3 separate regions of the Homo sapiens genome follow, and regions 1 and 2 are each linked to region 3. Evidence: promoter capture Hi-C in 16 types of primary human blood cells and fetal thymus (Javierre and others, 2016). All regions are on one chromosome and are shown on one strand. Each heading gives the region's core, a stretch centred on a gene start or on the middle of the fragment in contact. The rest is flanking DNA. Distances are from core to core; before and after follow the strand shown.

Region 1 (3,935 bases), core at 387-2,886, 230 kb before region 3:
CCCTCCTTCCTTGGCCTTCCAAAAGTGTTGGAATTACAGGTGTCAGCCACCAGGACTGGCCAGCTGTTGATTTTTATTTAAATTTTATAATTAACCATCAGACTCTTTTTCTGTTAGTTTTTGGTTGGTTCTCTTGAATTTTTAAAGTATACAACTGTGTCATATTAAGATAGTGTTCATTTTGTCTCTTCCTTTCTGATAATGTATTCTTGTTTTTACGCTTGCTTATCTGATTGCACTGAGTGGTATTTCAAGCGCAATGCCGAGTAATGGTGATGATGGCAGACATCCGTTTCTTGCCTTCTTACTATTATGCAAGTACTTCTAGTATTTCTGCAGTAAGCCGAAATCTTGGCTTTTGGTTAGAGGTGTATGGATTTTTAAAAAATTATATTAATGAAAAATATCCACCATTTATATTACAAAAATTGTTCTTAACGAGGAATGGCTATAGAGTTTATCAGATGCTTTTCCAGTATCTGTTGCCTATGACCATAAGGTTTTCTCCATTTTTTAATAAAAATATTCTGCTGGAAGAGTATTTGTTAATATTTTGATTAAGAGTTTGGCATCAGTATTCATGGATGAAATCACTCCTTGTCATTTTCAACTTAAGAGTATTTTATGAGCAACATATTTTTGAATTCCTTTTTGCAGTCTTATAGAGGCTTTTCAGGACAACAGTTTTTTTCCAAGTTGTTAACATTTGGTCTGTTTGTTGTTGGTCAGTTTTTCCATTCTGCTATTAAACCTTTTATTTCCTTTCTCATATATCTTTATTTTATATTGACTGTGCTTGAATATATCTGTTAAATTCAGCTTGGAAAGTGTTTAGATTTAAACAAATTACTTATTTCTTTACTCATTAAAGTCTCTGCTTATGGAAGGTAAATAATTCTTTTGATTTATCCTCTTTTCTCTCTTTTTTGTTTGGAGACAGGGTCTCACTCTGTCACCCAGGCTGGAGGGCAGTGGCACAGTCTCGGCTCTACTGCAACCTCCACTTCCTGGGTTGAAGCGATTCTCGTGCCTCAGCCTCCAAGTAGCTGGGACTACAGGCGCCCACCACCACACCTGGCTAGTTTTTGTAGTTTTAGGTAGAGACAGGGTTTCACCATGTTGGCCAGGCTGGTCTCGAACTCCTGACCTCAAGTGATTCACCCACTTTGGCCTCCCAAAGTGCTGGAATTACAGGCATGAGCCACCATGCCTGGCTTTTTTCTCACTTTCTTGTTCTTAAATAATTCATTCTGATCCACCACCTCTTAATCCCACTCCCCTGCCATTAGGCTATTATCTGCATCTTACTTTTGCCAGTTATTTAGTCTCAGACAGAACTGTTTATCATTAATTTTTTACTAATATATGCACATTATTAATATCCTTTTATTAGAAAGATGCCCATTTATACATTCTGATAAAAAAAGATGTTTGATTTTGAAATCTACTTTTTTTTTTGAGACAGACTCTCACTCTGTTGCCCAGGCTAGAGTGCAGTGGTGCAGTTACAGCTCACTGTGGACTTGACCTCCCAGGCGCAAGTGGTCCTTCTACATCAGCCACTTGAGTAGCTGAGACCACAGGCACGTGTGCCACCACGCCCAGCTAATTTTCAATTTTTTGTAGACACGAGGTCTCACTGTGTTGCCCAGACTGGTCTCAAACTTCTAGGCCCAAGCAACCTTTCTGCTTCAGTCTCCCAAAGAGCTTGAGATTACAGGCATGAGCCACTGCACCTGGCCAGAATACTGCTTTTTTTTTTTTTTGAGGCGGAGTCTCACTCTGTTGCCCAGGCTGGAGTGCAGTGGCATGATCTCAGCACACTGCAAGCTCCGCCTCCCGGGTTCACGCCATTCTGCCATTCTCCTGTCTCAGCCTCCCGAGTAGCTGGGACTACAGGTGCCGCCACCACGCCTGGCTAATTTTTGTATTTTTAGTAGAGACAGGGTTTCACTGTGTTAGCCAGGATGGTCTCGATCTCCTGACCTCATGATCCGCCCGCCTCGGCCTCCCAAAGTGCTGGGATTACAGGCATGAGCCACTGCACCCGGCCAGAAATCTGCTTTTTCAATACATGAATACAAGATCCTGCCCAGGAAAACATGCCTGTAAGCTCCAGGATAATGTCTGAAAAGTCACGTTAATGAGGACTGGGGTGGTGGTGGAGAATAACCACAAACATCAGCAAAATAAGTTTCAGGTTATTGAGAACTGGCTGGGAAAAAAATGCAAGGAAAGAGTGTTTTAAGCCTTTGTTTTCTGAAAAATTGAAAAAAAGAATGTGTTTCAAGAGTAGCGTTGTGGAACAGGCCTTTAAGGCCAACTAATGTAGGTTTATTTTTATTTTTATTTTTTGAGATGGAGTCTCACTCTGCCGCCCAGACTGGAGTGCAGTGGCGGCAATCTTGGCTCACTGCAACCTCCGCCTCCTGGGTTCAAGCGATTCTTCTGCCTCAGCCATTTGAGTAGCTAGGATTACAGGCCTTAGTCACCACGTCTGGCTAATTTTTGTATTTTTAGTAGAGACAGGGTTTCACCATGTTGGTCAGGCTGGTCTCGAACTCCTGACCTGTCTGTCCCTGTTTTCTAATGGACTTTGATATTGTCAGCCAAAATTCTCAGGAATGTAACCAGTTGGATCCCCATCTCCACTGCTTGGAAGGATACCAAACTCTACCCCCGTTGTTTTCTAAAAAGAGATTTCTTTTTTTTTTTGAGACGGAGTCTCGCTCTGTCACCCAGGCTGGAGTGCAGTGGCGCGATCTCGGCTCACTGCAACCTCCACCTCCCGGGTTCAAGCAATTCTCTGCCTCAGCCTCCCGAGTAGCTGGGATTACAGTTGCCTGCCACCACCCCTGGCTAATTTTTGTATTTTTAGTAGAGATGGGGTTTCACCATGTTGGCCAAGCTGGTCTCTTTGGCCAGGCTGGTCTTGACCTCCTGACCTCGTGATCTGCCCCCCTCGGCCTCCCAAAGTGCTGGGATTACAGGCGTGAGCCACTGTGCCCGGCTGCCTTTTTATTTTGCTTAGGAGAGTTTCCAGTCCTCATTGAGAGAGTGCGTATGTATGTAATTTCTTCTTTTTTTTCCTAAGGGATGAGGTTTTACCTTGTTGCTCAGGCTTATCTTGAACTCAGGCTTATGAGCTCAGGCAATCTGTCCACTACGGCCTCTCAACGTGCTGGATTACAGGCACGAGCCACCACACGGAGCCAGTGTAATTTCTTTAGAGTTACAAATTACAAAGTAAAAATATTTATGATCAAAATACTTACTCTTGTTGCATTTAATTTCAGAAAGAAACTCTCTAATATTAAAGAACTAAATCCCAGTACTTTGGGAAGCCAAGGCAGGCAGATCACTTGAGGCCAGGAATTCGAGACCAGGCTGGCCAACATGGCAAAAACCCATCTGTACTAAAAATACAAAAATCAGCCAGGTGTAGTAGTGCACGCCTGTAGTCCCAGCTACTTTGGAGGCTGAGGTGGGCAGATTGCTTAAGCCTGGGAGGTGGAGGTAACAATGAACCATGATCATGCTACTGAACTCCAGCCTGGGTGACAGAGTGAGGCTCAGTCTCCGGGGTGGGGGGGGGGACAAAAAACAAAAAACTAAAACTACAGGATTTTTGAACTTTGATTTAGCAGCATCTTACATAATTTGATACCTGTGCCTAAGGCAGTCAGAAAAAAGTGTGGTACTTTGTGAGGATTGGGGTTTGGGTTTTCATTTCCTTGGCTTTAAAAAATATATACAGAGGTAGGTTTGTGTGTATTTATGAATGTGTGTGTTTATATGTTGCAGGTGCTCATGGCAGTGTGTAAACTTTCTGCTGTTAGGCTGGGCATGCCTGTAATCCTAGCACTTTAAGAGGTTGAGGCGGGCAGATTGCTTGAGCTCAGGAGTTCAAGACCAGCCTGGGCAACATGGCAAAA
Region 2 (3,872 bases), core at 1,199-3,698, 250 kb before region 3:
CCATAGAAAGAAATAAAGTTTTTTTCTTTTTTCTTTTTTTTTTTTTTGTTTTAGAGACAGGATCTGGCTCTGTCACCCAGGCTGGAGTGAAGTGGCGCCATCTTGGCTCACTGCAGCCTCCATCTCCTGGACTCAAGGAATCCTCCCGCCTCAGCCTCCCGAATAGCTGTGACCACTGGCACACACCATTACGCCTGGCTAATTTTTGTGTTTTTGTAGAGGCGGGGTTTCACCATGTTGCCCAGGCTGGTCTCGAACTCCTGAGCTCAAGTGATCCGCCAGCCTCAGACTCCCAAAGTGCTGGGATTACAGGCGTAAGCCACAACTGTGCCTGGCCAGTAATGAAGCTTTGATACATGCTACAATATGGGTGCGTTTTAAAACATTATGCTAAGTGAAAGAAGTCAGTCACAAAAGACCACATAATGTATGCTTCCATTCACAGTGTATATGAAATGTCCAGATTAGGTAAATCCATGGAAATAGAAAGTAGAGTAGTGGTTGCCAGGGGTTGGGAGGAGGGAGGTGGGTAATAAAGAGTAACTGCTAATAGGTATGGGGTTTCTTTTCGGGGTGATGAAAATGGCCTAAAATTATGGTTAGGCTGGGCGCGGTGGCTCACGCCTGTAATCCCAGCTTTGGGAGGCCGAGGCGGGTGGACCACTTGAGGTCAGGAGTTCAAGACCGAGACCAGCCTGGCCAACATGGCGAAACCCCGTCTTTACTAAAAAAAAAAAAAAAAAAAAATACAAAAATTAGACGGGTGTGGTGGCGCACGACTGTGATCCCAGCTACTCGGGAGGCTGAGGCATGAGAATCACTTGAATCTGGAAGGCAGAGGTTGCAACGGGCCGAGATTGCACCACTGCATTCCAGCCTGGGTTACAAAGTGAGACTCTGTCAAAAAAAAAAAAAAAATTAGTGCTGATGGTTGGCACACTTTGAAAACATAAACAAAGCCGGAGGCAGTGGCTCACACCTGTGATCCCAGCATTTTGGGAGGTCAAACCAGGAGGATCCCTTGAGCTCAGGAGTCCAAGACCAGCTTGGGCAACACAGTGAGACGCTCGTCTCTGCAAAAACTTTGAGAAAATTAGCCGGGCGTGGTGGCAGGCACCTGTGGTCTCAGCTACTCGGGAGGCTGAGGCGAGAGGATCACTTAAGCCCAGGAAGTCCAGGCTGCAGTGAACTGTGAACTCCAGTCTGGGCGACAGAGCGAGACACCTCAGAAAAAAAAAAAAAAAAGAAAGAAAAAACCGAAAAAGACCACTAGAGGGTACATGTTTAAAGGACAGATTTTATGCTATGTGAATATATTTCAAGTAAAAATTAAATTAACAATTTTAAAAATTGCAGGAGTACGCAGCGCTTATAGAGGTCCCTGCATAACCTAGGGAGCGGGATCGAAACCCAGCAGCACCAAGATACTCTAAGAGCAGGACCAGCCACTGCCCCTTCCGCAGGACCGCCATCCTCGCCACGCCTCCGGGGGAGGGAGGTCCTGGCTTGGAGAGCGATGATTGGCCGAGTTCTAGGACGAGGCGGAGCGAAAGGGGGCGCGACAAGTCCCTCCCGGCGCAGCGAAACCTTAGCTCGCGAGATTTTGTTGGTTCCGCATTTCGGGTCTGCGAGGTGGGGTAGGCGGGCAAGGCGGGCGCCGAGGTTTGCAAAGGCTCGCAGCGGCCAGAAACCCGGCTCCGAGCGGCGGCGGCCCGGCTTCCGCTGCCCGTGAGCTAAGGACGGTCCGCTCCCTCTAGCCAGCTCCGAATCCTGATCCAGGCGGGGGCCAGGGGCCCCTCGCCTCCCCTCTGAGGACCGAAGATGAGCTTCCTCTTGTGAGTGGGGTCGGGCCGCGGGCGCCGGGCCTGCGGGCCGAGGTTGTGGGGGAGGCCTCCCCGGACCTGAGGCGAGGGCTCGGCCTGGGGGCCGAGGCGGGGGCGGGGTAGCTGGCGTTTGTTTTGCCTCTGTTCGGGTCCGCGGGGGAGGCCGAGATGTTGGGAGAGGCCGACAGAGATGAAGGTCGAAGTAAAGGAAACGGAGCGTGAAGGCTGGGGAGTAGAAAGGCCCCGGGGCCGTCGCGCCTCCAAACTTTTCCGCCCGAGCGCCCCCGAGGGCGGGGAGACGATCTGGGGGCGGAGCCGCGAGCCCCCAGTTTCTCTTGTCTCGAGCTTCTAGAAACCGTCCTTGCCGACTTAACTCGTTGCTCGGTTATAGGTCCAGTTTCATTATTGTCGGTGTTAAATGCCGCCCCAGGAGAATGTGCGTTGCCGCAGTTTGAGAAGCTTGAAGTTAAGATGCTGGCCTTGGAGTCGGATCGTTCTGTCCAGTTCTGATTCTGCCCACTTACTGGCTTTGATTTTAACCAACTTCTCTTGTCCTCGGTAGAATCCTGTGTTTTTAATCATTATGTAATATACCATACAGCATTATTATATAGTACATTGCAGTATTATAAATAATTTGGAAAGTTAAAACAAATTCATAGTCCCATTGCAGAAACACAGTATTGCCATTTTAGTGCACTACAGCAATTAACTTGATAGGCATACCTTAGAATCTCATTTTAGAGATAATGCCTGAGCCCAACCAAACAAGGCTAAAATGAAAAAGCTTGTAAATTCCCTGATGATTCTTATGCACATTAAGGTTTGAGAAGCATTGCTCTGGCACAGTATTTTTTATTCTCAGGTGTCTCTCTCTACCTTGTATATTGCTTAAATGTGTGTTTTGTGATTGAATAATTATCCAATTTTAGTTATGGATGTAATCCACATGCTTGACATTTTTATTAAATACAATATAAAAACACTATATAGTTTTTTTTTTATTTTTTATAACCAGAGTTTACCCACTTTATTGTGAGAAACTGGGATTCCTTCCAGTATTTACTATTATAAAATAGCACTACTCAGAATATGTTTATCTGCGTCTCATTTTCCTTCCTTTGGGTTATTCTCGTAAATGAATGGTCTCTAAAATACGATTACCTTGTCAAAAAGCCTGTATGATTTAGATTTAACTTCCATATTAATAGAAGTATTCCTCCCTCCTCCACTTTTTTCTTACGAGTTGATATTTAATTAGTGAATGCACAGTTGCTTTGTGGACCTTAATACGAGACTTTTTCTTTTTTTTTATTTTTTGAGACGGAGTTTCGCTCTGTCCTCCAGGCTAGAGTGCAATGGCACGGTCTCGGCTCACTGCAACCTCTGCCTCCGGGGATGGCACGGTCTCGGCTCACTGCAACCTCTGCCTCCCGGGTTCAAGCGACTCTCCTGCCTCACACTCCCGAGTAGCTGGGATTACAGGCGCCGGCCACCACACCTGGCTCATTTTTGTATTTTTAGTGGAGACTGGGTTTCATCATGTTGGCCAGGCTGGTCTCGAACTCCTGACCTCAGATGATCCACTCCCGCACTCGGCCGAGACTTTCTTTTTTTAAAACTTGGCCTTCTTGATGGACACTTGAGTTGTTCCCGCTTTTTGGCCATTATGAATAATGCTGCTGTGAACATATGTGACAGGTTTTTGCGTGGATGTATGTGTTCATATCTCTTGGGTATATACTTAGGAGCAGAATTGCTGGCTTAAGTGGTAACTATGTTTAACCTTTTGAGGAACTGCCAAACTTCAAAGTGCTGCACCATTTTACATTCCCATAAGTACTCTATGAGGGGTCCAATTTCCCCACACCTCTCATAGCACTTGTTAATTTTCTTTTTTTTTTTTTTTGAGACAGAGTCTTGCTCTGTCGCCCAGGCTGGAGTGCAGTGGCTCAATCTCGGCTCACTGTAAGCTCCGCCTCCCGGGTTCACGCCATTCTCCTGCCTCAGTCTCCCAAGTAGCTGGGACTACAGGCGCCTGCCACCATG
Region 3 (3,769 bases), core at 974-3,473:
AGAAGGAGAGGAGGAAATAAAAGAAAATCAGGAGTCTATCTTTCAAGTACTCAAGTCAAAATAATTGGAGTCATCATTGGCCCCTCTCTTTACCTTACACTCTGCATTCAACCTGTCACCAAATCCAATTGGCCCTATCTTAAAATATAACTAGAACCCAATCATTTCTCACCACTTCCACTGTTAAATTTTACTTAAAATGTAACTCAATTTTTGTTAACGTATAACTAGAATCCAATCACGTCTCACCACTTTCACTTTTCACAATACTATAATTATTGCAATACCACTTAACACTCTTCACTTTCAATGTTATCAGCCACAGTGATCTTTTTATAATCTAAGTAAAACTGTCACTTGACTCCTCAAACCTTCCAATGGCTACCCATCTCGGTAAGATTAAAAACCCATGATAAGGCCTATAAAATCTGGCCACCCCTTGGGCTTTTGCCCTAATTTCCCTCCCATCCTTGCTCACTCGACTTCAGTCACAACGATTTCCCTCCTATTCCCCGAACACACTTTCCACCTCAGGGCCTTTCCAATTGCTCTTCACTCTGCCTAGAAGATTCTTCTCCCAGGTATCCACGTGATTTGCTCCCTCATCTTCAGTTTTTTGCTCAGATGTCACCTTCTCAGTGAGGCCTTGCTTATTTTATTTAAAATGACAACTTCGGCCAGGTGCAGTGGCTAACGCCTATAATCCCAGCACTTTGGGAGGCCGAGGCAGGCGGATCACCTGAGGTTAGGAGTTTGAGACCAGCCTGGCCAACATGGTGAAACCCTGTCTCTACTAACAAAACAAAAATTAACTGGGTGTGGTGGCGGGTGCCCCTAATCCCAGCTATTCGGGAGGCTGAGGCAGGAGAATCGCTTGAACCAGGGAGGCAGAGGTTGCAGTGAGTCGAGATCGTGTCATTGCACTCCAGCCTGGGTAACAAGAGCAAAACTCCATCTCAAATAAAATAAAATAAAAACTTCCCTCAATTCTTCATCCCTAATTTTTCTCCATCATACTTATTACTCTCTAACATATTGTTCACCTTGCTTAATTTATGTTGTTTATTGTCCATCTCTCCCTACTTGAGTTCCATGAGAGCAGAGATTTTTATTTGTTCTATTCACAGCTGTATTCTCCAGGCCAAGAACAGTGCTGGCATATGGAAGTGGCTCAAAAGGTGATTTGTTGAATGAATAAAAAAAGAAATTCTCAGTTTGCTGCTACGTCTTCAGTACTCAACACTTGCTAAGCCCCTTTTAGGGGCTCAGTGACTTGGTAGATAAAAGTATCAAGTCAGAATTTATTAATATTAAATCGAAATGCTTTGCCTTCATTTTGCTTTCTGACTACTTTTTATTCAAGATACTGGATCTCACTCTTTTAACAAAATAATTTTTAATTTAATACATGTTTTTAAGTTTAAAAAGTGAGGTTCTTCTAAGAAAAGCCTTAAGAAATTATTATGCAACTAGCACAGGCACAGGGCAAAAATTGTGAATGTGGTATTTGAACGACTGAAATTTAGGAACTCTCTTCGAATAGGGTTGCCAGATAAAATACAGGACACAGTTAAATTTGAACTTTCAATGAGTGATTTCGTTGTTGTTTTGCTGTAAGGATGTCCCAAATATTGCATTGGACACACACTAAAAATTATTCGTTATCTTAAATTCTATTTTAACTGGATATTATTTTTAATTTCTGCTAAATATGGCAACCCTATCTAGGAGAACAAATAAACTGCACCCGCTTGTCGCTTCAATTTCGATCTATTACAAACAGCTAATACAATTCTTGTCCTATCCACTAACTGCGTGGCTTTTATGCCCCAACAAATATGTTCCTGTGGGCGGGTACTGAGGCCCGATATCCTAAAAACAAGGAGGCAAAGATACACAGTGCACTTTGCGAGGGGAAAGGCTCTCCTCGCAGCCCAGAAAAAGAGGCCGGCCGCATCAGACGCAGGCCATTCCGGGCCCAGCTCCTTTCCCAGCCTCTGTCGCCTGCGTGGCGGAGGCCAAGGCTTGGCAGCCGCTTTCCGGCCCTTACCAATGTTGCCTTCGATGGAGAGCCTTCGGGGCCCGCGCCCCGCGTGCAGGCCTCTGGAGGAGGAAACGCCCTCGAGTGGGCTCTTGGCCATGGAACTGAAGGGTGCTCGAAGCCGACTTAGAAAGAGGCGGCCCGCGGCCATCCCACCCACGATTCACACAGCGATCACTTCCGCCGAGAGCACTTCCGCCCTAGGTATCGCTGCTCACTCGCTCCAGCGCACCGTTGACGTAAGGAGATCGTCAGACAGGAAGTGGGTGGGGTTGAACATGCGGCGGGGTGCGCCCAAGAGACCGCTCCGCTATCGCGATGTTTGTAAAGAAGCGTTGAGTGAAGGAAGTTTTGCAACGGTGCAGAATTTGATAGTAAAAGGAGTTGCGGTGCGAGTGGTTTTTGTTCATTGGACAAATAACATTTTAAAAGACGTAATTCCACAATCCAACCACTTCATTTTTGTATAACTTTAAAATAAATTTTATAACTGAAGACAAAATTAAAAATAGAAATTGTAATTTTAAGAGGGGATTTCCCCCCCCCCAGGTGCTTGTTGTCTGGTTTTTATTTTAATATCGGAAGAAAATGGAAGTTTTAAAGTAGGAAAATGACTCAATCTGATGATTTACACAAATTTAACTTTTTCCTATTCCCTGTAATTCCCCTGCACAATGCTGGCATATTATTGACTAAATTAACAAATTAGATAATCAGTTACACCCCATCTCTTAGTTTGTGTCTTGAATAAGTAAATAAATGTTCGGTCAATCGATTTGCATTATACCCAAAAATCCCTTCAGGATAAGGTGGTGGTGGCTCAGGTATGTGACTGGAAATTGTTTAAACCTGGTAGGCTGGGTTCTTGGACGTAAGCAATGGCGAGTAGAGACTTGTATAAAACCTGAGTCCTGCTGTCGGTGAAGTGTGCTCTGCAGGAGGGCAGGGACCTAAGCTGCTGCCACAGGTGAAGCCGGACTGCCACACCCCGTCGTCATAACAACCTCAGAAGTAATGATTTACAAAATGTTGTCAAATGGTGCTTCCAGTTCCAATCGCTTAAATCACCAACAGTCAAAACCAGGAGTCAACAGGCCAAACCGGCCTTCAGGCAGCGCTCTTAGGTGTGGCAGGTTTTAGAAGACAAGGATCTGATTGCAAGGGGGCTGGGGAGGGGCCGGGGGCTGGGATACCTGTCTTGAAGCTGTTCCCATAAAAAGCACGGGACCTTTTTCTTATGTTGATGTATATATAGGATGGCTGAGGTCATGTTTATATATTAAGAACTTTTTTTTTAATCGAATTTTTTAAGGATAACCAGGGTGGGGCGTTAATGGCTACTGGAGCGGCTAAAGTCCTACCCATTCCCATCTCCACTCCAGCAGCCACTTCTGTTAAAACAAAACAAAACAAAACAAAACAAAACAAAAAACAAAAAAAAAACTGCTTACATTTCTTTACCTATGTAAACTCAGACTTGGAAAATATTCATCCAAAAAAGCTTGAGAGGCTCTCTGCCTCGCCAGGATCTTGCTGCCTCAGGGGTGTTGTGAAAGTTAAATGAGGAAGTTGTCTGCAGGCAGGCATTAATCTCCTAAAAGCTACGAGGCAGGAAAATAGGGTCTGGAGACAGGGAACCTAAGGCCGATTTAGGCTGACTTCCTAGAACTAAATCAAAAGGAAAACCCCAACTTTCTAGCCCAAGTAACAAAAGGACCAGAAGCTAAT

What was found. Contacts are between HindIII fragments. The CHiCAGO score rates a contact against its expected background, and 5 or more counts as called.
Region 1: a contact is called between a fragment that was not itself captured here and the fragment with the promoter of DGUOK in region 3, in 5 of 17 cell types (total CD4 T cells, non-activated CD4 T cells, total CD8 T cells and 2 more). The highest score is 6.3, in total CD4 T cells.
Region 2: a fragment that was not itself captured here is called in contact with the fragment with the promoter of DGUOK in region 3 in 6 of 17 cell types (activated CD4 T cells, total CD4 T cells, naive CD8 T cells and 3 more); the score reaches 7.0 in activated CD4 T cells.

What each region holds. Positions count from the first base shown.
Region 1 is chr2:74,159,480-74,163,414 of GRCh38, reverse strand. The region is part of intron 4 of MOB1A (MOB kinase activator 1A); the gene reads left to right. Among named protein-coding and RNA genes, the nearest start is that of BOLA3-DT, 13 kb to the right of the region's middle. The HindIII fragment of the contact is 5,606 bases long and covers 1-3,935 here.
Region 2 is chr2:74,176,624-74,180,495 of GRCh38, reverse strand. It overlaps MOB1A (MOB kinase activator 1A), which reads left to right and starts at 1,617. Exons shown (of 6, transcript NM_018221.5): 1 at 1,617-1,835. The coding sequence starts at 1,822. RefSeq lists silencers at 1,856-2,045, 3,765-3,872 and an enhancer at 1,909-2,592. The HindIII fragment of the contact is 328 bases long and covers 2,285-2,612 here.
Region 3 is chr2:73,925,334-73,929,102 of GRCh38, reverse strand. DGUOK (deoxyguanosine kinase) reads right to left here and starts at 2,223. Exons shown (of 7, transcript NM_080916.3): 1 at 2,051-2,223. The coding sequence starts at 2,192. RefSeq lists an enhancer at 1,922-2,191. The HindIII fragment of the contact is 7,290 bases long and covers 1-3,544 here.